Regions from separate parts of the Homo sapiens genome. Here regions 1 and 2 are each linked to region 3. Evidence: promoter capture Hi-C in 16 types of primary human blood cells and fetal thymus (Javierre and others, 2016). All regions are on one chromosome and are shown on one strand. The core of a region is centred on a gene start or on the middle of the fragment in contact, and the rest is flanking DNA. Distances in the headings are between cores, read along the strand shown.

What was found. Contacts are between HindIII fragments. The CHiCAGO score rates a contact against its expected background, and 5 or more counts as called.
Region 1: a contact is called between a fragment that was not itself captured here and the fragment with the promoter of IRS2 in region 3, in 1 of 17 cell types (megakaryocytes). The highest score is 5.1, in megakaryocytes.
Region 2: a contact is called between a fragment that was not itself captured here and the fragment with the promoter of IRS2 in region 3, in 3 of 17 cell types (M0 macrophages, monocytes and M2 macrophages). The highest score is 6.7, in M0 macrophages.

What each region holds. Positions count from the first base shown.
Region 1 is chr13:110,138,497-110,141,622 of GRCh38, reverse strand. It overlaps LOC101927712 (a long non-coding RNA gene), which reads left to right and starts at 3,009. Exons shown (of 3, transcript XR_931726.3): 1 at 3,009-3,126. RefSeq lists a silencer at 3,035-3,114. The HindIII fragment of the contact is 1,264 bases long and covers 812-2,075 here.
Region 2 is chr13:109,400,296-109,403,551 of GRCh38, reverse strand. It overlaps LINC00399 (long intergenic non-protein coding RNA 399), which reads right to left and starts at 2,856. Exons shown (of 2, transcript NR_126361.1): 1 at 2,744-2,856; 2 at 1,911-2,211. LOC105370359 (a long non-coding RNA gene) reads left to right here. Exons shown (of 3, transcript XR_001750017.3): 1 at 1-601; 2 at 1,011-1,521; 3 at 2,663-3,256. The HindIII fragment of the contact is 1,294 bases long and covers 1,247-2,540 here.
Region 3 is chr13:109,784,923-109,788,213 of GRCh38, reverse strand. It overlaps IRS2 (insulin receptor substrate 2), which reads left to right and starts at 1,631. Exons shown (of 2, transcript NM_003749.3): 1 at 1,631-3,291. The coding sequence starts at 2,161. LOC124903211 (WAS/WASL-interacting protein family member 1-like) reads right to left here and starts at 1,130. Exons shown (of 2, transcript XM_047430835.1): 1 at 769-1,130; 2 at 1-614. The coding sequence starts at 1,121. The coding sequence ends at 377. RefSeq lists silencers at 1,234-1,403, 1,424-1,653 and an enhancer at 2,495-3,124. The HindIII fragment of the contact is 25,501 bases long and covers 1-3,291 here.

The sequences.
Region 1 (3,126 bases), core at 194-2,693, 350 kb before region 3:
TTTAGGATTTCTCATTCTGTCTAATTTTCCGACATCTAATTATGACATGTCTGTGTGTGGATTGGGTTCTTTAGCTTTGTGAGTCTGTAGATGTATGCCTTTCTCTTATGGAAAAATGTTGGTGTTTGGGGGTCTTTGCAGGCCAATGACTGGGTCAGGTTCCAGGCTGCAAGCTTCAATTCACCTTCTATAGGTAGAACTGTTTTTGCGGTACTATTCAGATCTGTCCTGCATGCGTGCCCACCAACGGCCTGTCTGGGTGTGGGCAGTGTGGGCAGTTTTCAGTTTGGTAGCTGTTTAGAGTCAGATCCATGCACGCGCACATCAAAGATGAGTCCAGGAGTCCATGAACAATTTTACTGGATCTCCTTCCCTCATTCCACCGTCCCACTGAACTCCCCATTACTTTTCAGAGCCTAACATTCCTCTTGTTGACTCCTTGTTTCTAAAATTGTGTCTTTACTTACTCTGCACATAATTTCTGTGGCTGCAGCCATATCTGGGCTAAACAGCAGGAGAACTGGAGAAAAAATATGGTAAAATTGTCCTGCTTTGGTGGCACATCTAAATCTGGTTTTCTTCCCCAGTCTGTCTGCTACCGTTCACTGACAGAGTCCTCTAATAGCTGCTCCATGCACTCAGCAGGAGAGACAGGCTGGGGTGGCCTGCTAAACTTTACCTGGGACTGGCACCAGCCACAATACAGAGTACTTGTTTTGATGGTTTTAAGTATGATGGTGATAAATGGAAGAGAATGAAACGGTTCAACTTTGGTCATTTAAAAAATCTTTTCACTCTCTTTTCTAAAGCTTGAACATACCATAGTCTACCAATTTAGTTAACCATCATTCATGGGCTTTTCGATTTTAATGGCTGTATGCTGGCTCTTTCCATGCACTTTTTCACTCTAGCTTACTGGACTTTAAATTACATGCATTAGCTTGTACTCATTAGGGGTACCATCGCTTTTACACCAGAATTCTTAAAGCCTAAGACTCAGTGCACCCATCCTGTATCTGAACCCAAGAGTCATTTTGTCGTCCTCATGAAACTAGACAAATCTGAGTTCAGATGCTGACTCTGCCACTTACAAACTTGTGACCTTGGGTAAGATATAAAACCTCTCAGAGATCTGCACAAATTAGGTCATTTTTACTTGTAATTCTTCCAAATCAGAATCATAGACTGAGAAGGATTTACAAAAAAAGAGAAAACCTGTTTGGCTGTATCACTTATCATCCTTTTACTCATTCTCTGCTTCCTTCCATCTGTTCCTTCCATCTACTCATCCATCCATCCATCCATCCATCATCCATCCACCATCCATCCATCCATACATACATTCATCTGTTCATCCATCCATCTATTCATCCATCTGTTCATCCATCCATCCATCCACTGATCCATCTCTTCATCATTCATATTCTGCGTGCTTATTATTTCCCAAGTACTAGGTTAGGTACAGGATAAATGGAAATCGATAATGTCGTCCTTAAGAAGTGTTGTGCAAAAAAAAAAAAATAATAATTGTGGAAGAAACCTGTAATTTGTCAGGTTAAGGAATTAAAAAGGAGTTATGCAATAGATAGGGTGAGGTTGAGGGTTGGATTACAAATGGAATAAAGGTTGCCCACATCTGAGTGTTGCCTGGAAGATTAAATGAGAAATATGCAAGACGAAGTGCACACGGCATCTCTTCCTTCATCCAGGCCCCGAGTGAGGTCCAGGGATGCAATGTCACGGCATAGCCCCTGCCTCAGGAGACTTTATACCAATGTGGATTGTTTCTGCATTCTCCTTTACACGTGTGTCTAAATCATTCTGAGGATAATTTTGTGGTCAACTTCATTTCTACCTGAATGACAAATTCCCTATATTCAATTCCCATGATGCAAAAATAGCATTTAGTTTTATTGGGCCTAAGATGATCTCTCTGCAATATTAAAAGGTGTCCCCTAGAGTAATTTTTAAGTATCTGAGGTTTTGTTAAGATCATTCTTTTCATAATTCATATCTTCTTTAACCTTTGTTATTCCAGATTTAAGAGATGTTTTCAAGTCGTGTTCTCAGAAGCTTCTGATCCTTATCCTTCTGATCATTTGAGTTATACCTGTCTGACTCTACTATGTCTCCCTGCTGCTTTGATAAAAGACAATTTCACATACTGTGGAGGTCATCAGTCAATCTAATGTTTATTAATCATCCCCTCATTTCACATGGCTTTCTCTGGACCCCTTGGGAGGAGACAAGGTAATAAATCCTATCCTCCATCCCAGGTTCATGATCATTTGGATAGACAAGGTATATATAGAGAAAATATTTAATAATTAGAGTCCTGAAGGAGGGACTTTGCAGTGAACTTCAACATCTCAAGCCTCCTTCTTCTCCCACTTCCAAACCACCCTGAATCACGCGGGAGAAGTGAAAATATCTTTTAAAGACATCAAGAGAAAAATATTTCACAAGCCTGTTCGATAACTTTCTGAAAACACTCATTGTTCAGGGTGCTGCTTAAATGATCTTTCTGCTTCTGCCGGTGGCAAGGCCCCTCCAGCTCTGAAAGCATGCAGAGGACAGCCCATTGTTCCCTTAACGCCTGAGCATCAATCACCTGGTCACCCAACACTCAGCCAGCTCTGCGCAGAATGTTTCTAAGTGATTTTGACTGCAAGACTTTTCGCCATTGGGTCCACGTGGGAACCTCTCCCTCTGGCTCTCCTTACACCTCCACATGGGTGGACACATGGCCCCGGCCTCTGGAGGGATGGAGAGGGAGGGTGCTTCTGGAGAGAGGAGATCTGATGGGGCTGGGGTCTCTCCAACCCTGCACGTGGCACCCTGTGAACTCACAGCCTTTCATACCAGCTCCTTCCCTGGTCCTTAGCCCTTTCGTCAGTGCGGTTTAGGGCAATGGTCACCTGAACGTTTGTTTTGACAGTCACAAATTCCCAGAAACAGGGAAACGGAACTCGCTAGCGACGTTGTGTGGATGAGTTTGCTTTAGGCTGGAACAAGCCTTGCCTTTGGGTAACGGGCTTCCGGGTGCGCCCTGGCCGGCTGTGTGCGCGCGGAAGGCGGTCACCTGGGCCCCCTGGGCGCGCGCGCCGCCCGCCCGCCCGCCTGCCC
Region 2 (3,256 bases), core at 644-3,143, 380 kb after region 3:
TTTTGATATAATCTTTTCCTGTGTTTTTCTATTTATACATTGGGTGTGTACATGTGAAACACAATGTCCACTATACAGCATATCAATTTTATAGCCTTCTTTAAAAACCACACAATGTGTCCAAAGCACTCTCTCTTGCCATTAACTATTCTTCAACACACTTCAAAAGGCTGTCTTCTCCAGACACAGCCCACTGCTGCATTTAGCTCACGGCCTCGGCCATATGTACTTTCATCTTACACCGCCTCAACGACACATCTGCTGAAGCCTGGAGCTGAAACTGAGCCATTAAAAAACAGATCAATTTAGACCTAACAGGATCTTACCAACGTATTTTGCAATGGGTGGCCCTGAACCCAGTGTTACTTAATGTTTTCATTGTTGGCCTGGGTTAGGAAACCCTACCAGCATCACCCACACAGAGAAGCAGCAGCCTTGCTTACATGCAGATGAGGGGCCATGCCCTGGTCTCAGTCTACCTGCCCGCTGGCAGTGTAGCATGACGGCAGTTGTGTGCACAAGACTCCAGGCTCAGGGGACCCAAGTCAAGGCACCAGCTCTGCAGCTGCCACATGTGTGGCTCTGGGCAAGGGCCCAAGAGGTAGGGACTCAGTTTCTCAGCAGTAAAATGAGAATAATAAGCCCCAGTGTGCAGCTCAATGTATGGGAAGTATTTACAATAGTACTGGGCAGAGTAGTCACCCTGTAATGATAGAGACCTTTGCAGAAGTAAATGGTAGGTGACTTCCTTGCTCACAAACCTTAGAGTGATCTCCTGCACATGGCTGGGGAGGAGTCTCCATGCCTGTGTGTCTAGCCCCATCTCTTACTGGTCTATAACTTCATACCTGTGCCCCGTCCACACACAACAGTTTGTAGATTCTTGAGGACAAAATGGCTCACACCTGTTTTCTACCTGGAAGCCACTTCTTCCTCATTGCGTAGCCCTGGTCTCTCATCCTCATTCATTTACCTGACTAATTTACACTCTTCTGTGTGCTTTCATCCAGATACGCTGTCTCTTCATAGAAACTTTCTCCAGTGCTCGCCTGCCCACAGACCTGGTTAGAGGCCCCGCTTTTTATGGCCCCCCGGACTTAACCACGTCACAGAAATCATCACATTGTGTTGAGCCTCCTGGGTTTCTTTGGACTGGAAGCTCCCTGAGGGCAGGGTTATCTTGTTCGTCCTTTCATCCCCAGGGCCTGGCATAAGACCTGGCGAAGAGCTGCTGCATGCTAAAGCTTTGCTAATTGAATGACTGTGTGTTATTTCTTAAATTCAATGAGAAATCACTCTACAAAGTCCAGGAGAATGAAAGTCTCAATAACCGAGCTTTCTCTCCCCTGAGCACCTACACAGGAAACTCAATTACAGTTGCAAGAGGCCTCGAAGACCTGCAGGATTTAGAAGAATCCAGGCATCTCCGGGCCCCTGGCTGGGGCTTCTGCATCTGACAATAGAGATGGCTTTGCTCAGGGGAAGAATACTTTGGGCTCTGACTCACTCCATGAGCACTGGGTAAGCAACGTCCACCTTGGTGGCTCTTGCTATAATTTGTCTGTGTGTTCAGACCCAGTCCTTCCCTCCCAAACTGCTGACAGCGGTTTTCTTCGGTTATGCTAATATCCCCCACTATGTTCAAGTTGAGTTTTGTAGACATGCCAGCTGCTCTGTTTCTTTACGTTGATTTTCTCGCTCTGCCCTAATATGTGCTCATTTCATAGGTGGACTCTCTACAATCAATCTTTTAATTTTTTAAATGTTCAAGTTATTGAGGGACACCTTCCTGAGAGGCGTCCATTGTAAACGACAGCTTATCACTGATATTATCATATGAAAGCTATTGTTGTAGGACTTTCTCTTTAGGGCCCATGTCACATGGCCATGAGAGATTAGGGTCACAGAGATTTTGAAGGGTGAGAAAAATGGAATTTATCGGGCCAAAAGGAAAAAAAGGGAAACAGGGACTCTCAGCAAAGCAACAGTCCTGCTAGCGGGTTTTCCCGCCTCAGCGATTGAATCTCAGGTACTATCCAGGATCAGGAGAGGCCAGGCTCCTCCCCTCTGCAAAGCGCGTGAACTTCCGTGGCTCCACCCCATTCTCCCAGGGCGCAGGCCGGTTGGGGTTTCCCCAGGGACCCTTTATACTTGGCTGTTCATTGTGGTGATATGGTTCCAAGCCTGAAGAACTTGCAATCTGATTAAGATCTGAATGCATGAATTAAAAAAAAAAAATTATGGTAATTTAACATAAGAAATAGTCTTGAAGCAAGGGGTTATCACAAGGGTGCTTATGACAGCGTTAGTTGTATTAGTAAAATATAGAAATAACCAATACTAGAATTTTTAAATTACAGTGAATTCTTTTGCTGCTACTGAAATTATGCTTTCAAAGATAATTAATGTTTCTAAGGATAGTTCATTTAGAGGGGAAAGTACAGAGCTCAAATTCCAAATAAAAGGTCATGATTTGAAATTACCGTGGGAGAAAATGATATAGATATGGGAAAAGAAAGTGTTTTCAAGGCAGCAAAGCTTTGTTTAAAGCTAATCACAGATAACTTCTACTTTTATTATCCTTATCAGGATTTATCTTGTATCATGAATAGTGAGCATTTGCCTCGCCTATTATATCTAATTCTGAGTTCTGTGGCTTAAGGTAGCGTCAAGCATTTGGAATGGATTCAGATAAGGGCCAGCCCGGCTGGTGCCAGAGCAGGGCACAGAGCCTGTTTCCTACCGATCCTGGATCCTGACAGTGCGACTCCGCGTGCGGCTTCTCCCTGCCATGGTCTTAGATTTCAACCTGTCTCAGTGTATGAAGAGCGAGAAGGATTCATTCCAGGTCTGTTTGTGAATCTTTTCTAAGAAGTGTTTCCTAGGCAACTTCTAGAAGGCATTAAACAATAATGGGTTTTAGTTTTTCAAGAAACCTTGGAGATCTAGGACATCCTGTCTTTACCAACGGAGACACCAAGGCACAGAGATTCCAGGGGATGTGACGGCAGAACCATTTCCTTGTTCTTGTCGGCTCGCCTTCTGCTGGCTGTGGCTTCCTTTGTGTCTAGCATGTAACCCTGCATGCCTATTCAGGATTAAGGGAGGCCAAGTTCTGCCTCCTGGCTGGTGAATGCCGGGAGGCCCAGGAGGAAGCAGTAGCTGGTGAGGGAAACGCGCAGCAGATTGACAGCTGGGCGGAGCAGGGCAGGCCTCCCGGAGCACATTTCTGCACAGAGAACTAGGAAGCAATAAA
Region 3 (3,291 bases), core at 382-2,881:
TTTCTCTTAGATTAAGATTTTATTACTTTTAAGATACTTCTATGAATTATAGAGGACATCCAAAAGTAAACATCCGGGACTTAAAAACAATAACCAATATTATAAGATAAATTATTGCTGTAAATTATTTCATGAAGGCACAATTAAAAAAAAAATAAAATAAACAGCCAAAGCCTGTTTTGTTGAGTTTTCTTCGTTGCGCAGGATCGGGAGCTTGCTGGGATCTGAACTCAGGAAGCCCTCACCTCACCCTGACTTGGTCATTGAGGAGACGTAATTGCAGGGGTGCTTATTTGCTATAGGCTTTGAAAGTCACAAAAGCCCAGTAGATACATGAATTCGAAGCAGTTCTCCAAGGGCATCTCCAACTTGGCAGTCACCGCCCGCACCGCGCACACAGGTAGTGGACGCCCGCCCACCTGCCCGTCTGCTGGGCGCAGGGCGCTCCTGGGGTGGGGAGGGCGCTCCTGTGGGGGGAAAAGGGGCGCTCCTGCCTCGGAGGGGGAAAGGACGCCCCTGTGGAAGGAAGGGGGGGCTCTTGAAGCGGTGTGGTGAGAGGACGCTTCCGAGGAAGGAAGGGGGTGCTCCTGCAGCGGTGGGGGGAGAGGACGCCCCTGCGGAAGGAAGGCGGCGCTCCTGCGGGGGCTGGAGAGACGCCCGCGCGGTCTCCCGGCTCAGGGACCGCTGGCTCGCGGGTCCGCCCTCTCCCCGGCGCTATGGAAACCGCACTTTCTCCGCCTGCCGTCCCCGATCTCTTTCTCCTATTACCTCCCAAACGCGATTTCAACTTCCCGACAAGCTGACAAGTGAATGGCGCAGAGGACGCCCCGTAAAGCGCCCGCGAGCGGGTGGGACACAGGCGCCCCCTCCGCGCCCCTCTGTCCTCCACGGAAGGGCGCGCGCCGCTCTCGATCTGGAGCGCGGTGCTCGCGAACCCGCGGCCGCGGGCCCTGGAACCTCCCCGCGTTTCGCGGCTGCGGGGGGACGGAGATGCGGCCGGGAGACGGGGACGGGAAACGGGGGACGGGGATGGGGCGCGCCCACCCCGAGCGCGGGAGCGGCCGCCCTCGCCCAAAATGGGGACCCCGCGCCCCGAGAGCACGGCCCGGCTCGCCGCCCATGCTTCCACTGCAAGGCCGCAGCCCCCGCCGCCGATCCCGATCCCCCGCCCCGCCCAGCCGCGGCCCCGCCCGGCGCCCCCTCCCCGGCGGAAGCTCAAGCCCAATTAATTGAGTCCGAGGCGGGAGGGAAGGGCCCTGCGCGCCGTGGCCCGCCCCGCCCCTCTTCCGCGCCCCTTTTCCCGCCCTGGGTGGCATCTCCTCCGCCGGCATCCACAACAAGCCGCTGATTAATGAGGCCGGGGCCGCCCCACCCCGCCCGGCCGGGCCGGGGCCTTCGCGGGAGGGGGAGGGGACGGCGGGAAACGCGGCCCGGGGAGAAAGGGGGGCGGGGCGGGGGCGCGCGGCCCGCCCCCGCGAGCGCCGCGCCGATTGGCCGAGCGCGCCGTCCGTCGGGGGGCGCGGCGCCAATGCGAGGCAGCGGGGCGGGGCGGCCGCGCTGTGTGTGCCTGCGTAACGCCGAGTCACATGTTGTTTTGCTCTTCTTAGTTCAGTCACTCGGTGCGCGATGTGTTACTCACTGTGCGGCGGGGACCGCGACGAGCCCGGGTCGCCGTTGGCAGCAGCAGCAGCAACACCAGCAGCAGCAGCAGCCCCGGCGGCGGCGCGGACCCCGAGCGCCCGGGCGCACCCCGGCTTCCCGGAGCGCGACGCGGCGGCAGCAGCCCCGGTGCGGCCGCGCGCGCCTTAGGCTCGGCCCCGCGGCTCGGGGACCCCGACTCCCGGCCCAGCGAGCGCGTCCCCCGGCGCCGCCCGAGAGCCCGAGGAGGCAGCGGCCGCAGGCAGCCGGGGAGGGGGGCGGCCACCGCCCGCGCCGGGCATCCTCAGGAGCCCCAGAGCGCGGAGGGCGCGGCGCCGCCGAGCGGTGCTGGCCCCCGCGGGCCTCCCCGGACCTTCCCCACCGCCTGGGCCCGAGGGACGCGTGATCGGGCGGGCGGCCGGGCGCAAGGGTGGGAGGGAGCCGCCCCCGCCCGCGCCCCCTCCGCCCCTCGCCCCAACCCCTGGGCGCCGGGCCCGGGCCGCGCGGCCTGAAGCGCCCGCGATGGCGAGCCCGCCGCGGCACGGGCCGCCCGGGCCGGCGAGCGGAGACGGCCCCAACCTCAACAACAACAACAACAACAACAACCACAGCGTGCGCAAGTGCGGCTACCTGCGCAAGCAGAAGCATGGCCACAAGCGCTTCTTCGTGCTGCGCGGACCCGGCGCGGGCGGCGACGAGGCGACGGCGGGCGGGGGGTCGGCGCCGCAACCGCCGCGGCTCGAGTACTACGAGAGCGAGAAAAAGTGGCGGAGCAAGGCAGGCGCGCCGAAACGGGTGATCGCTCTCGACTGCTGCCTGAACATCAACAAGCGCGCCGACGCCAAGCACAAGTACCTGATCGCCCTCTACACCAAGGACGAGTACTTCGCCGTGGCCGCCGAGAACGAGCAGGAGCAGGAGGGCTGGTACCGCGCGCTCACCGACCTGGTCAGCGAGGGCCGCGCGGCCGCCGGAGACGCGCCCCCCGCCGCCGCGCCCGCCGCGTCCTGCAGCGCCTCCCTGCCCGGCGCCCTGGGCGGCTCTGCCGGCGCCGCCGGGGCCGAGGACAGCTACGGGCTGGTGGCTCCCGCCACGGCCGCCTACCGTGAGGTGTGGCAGGTGAACCTGAAGCCCAAGGGTCTGGGCCAGAGCAAGAACCTGACGGGGGTGTACCGTCTGTGCCTGTCTGCGCGCACCATCGGCTTCGTGAAGCTCAACTGCGAGCAGCCGTCGGTGACGCTGCAGCTCATGAACATCCGCCGCTGCGGCCACTCGGACAGCTTCTTCTTCATCGAGGTGGGCCGCTCGGCCGTCACAGGCCCCGGCGAGCTGTGGATGCAGGCGGACGACTCGGTGGTGGCGCAGAACATCCACGAGACCATCCTGGAGGCCATGAAGGCGCTCAAGGAGCTCTTCGAGTTCCGGCCGCGCAGTAAGAGCCAATCGTCGGGGTCGTCGGCCACGCACCCCATCAGCGTCCCCGGCGCGCGCCGCCACCACCACCTGGTCAACCTGCCCCCCAGCCAGACGGGCCTGGTGCGCCGCTCGCGCACCGACAGCCTGGCCGCCACCCCGCCGGCGGCCAAGTGCAGCTCGTGCCGGGTGCGCACCGCCAGCGAGGGCGACGGCGGCGCGGCGGCGGGAGCGGCGGCC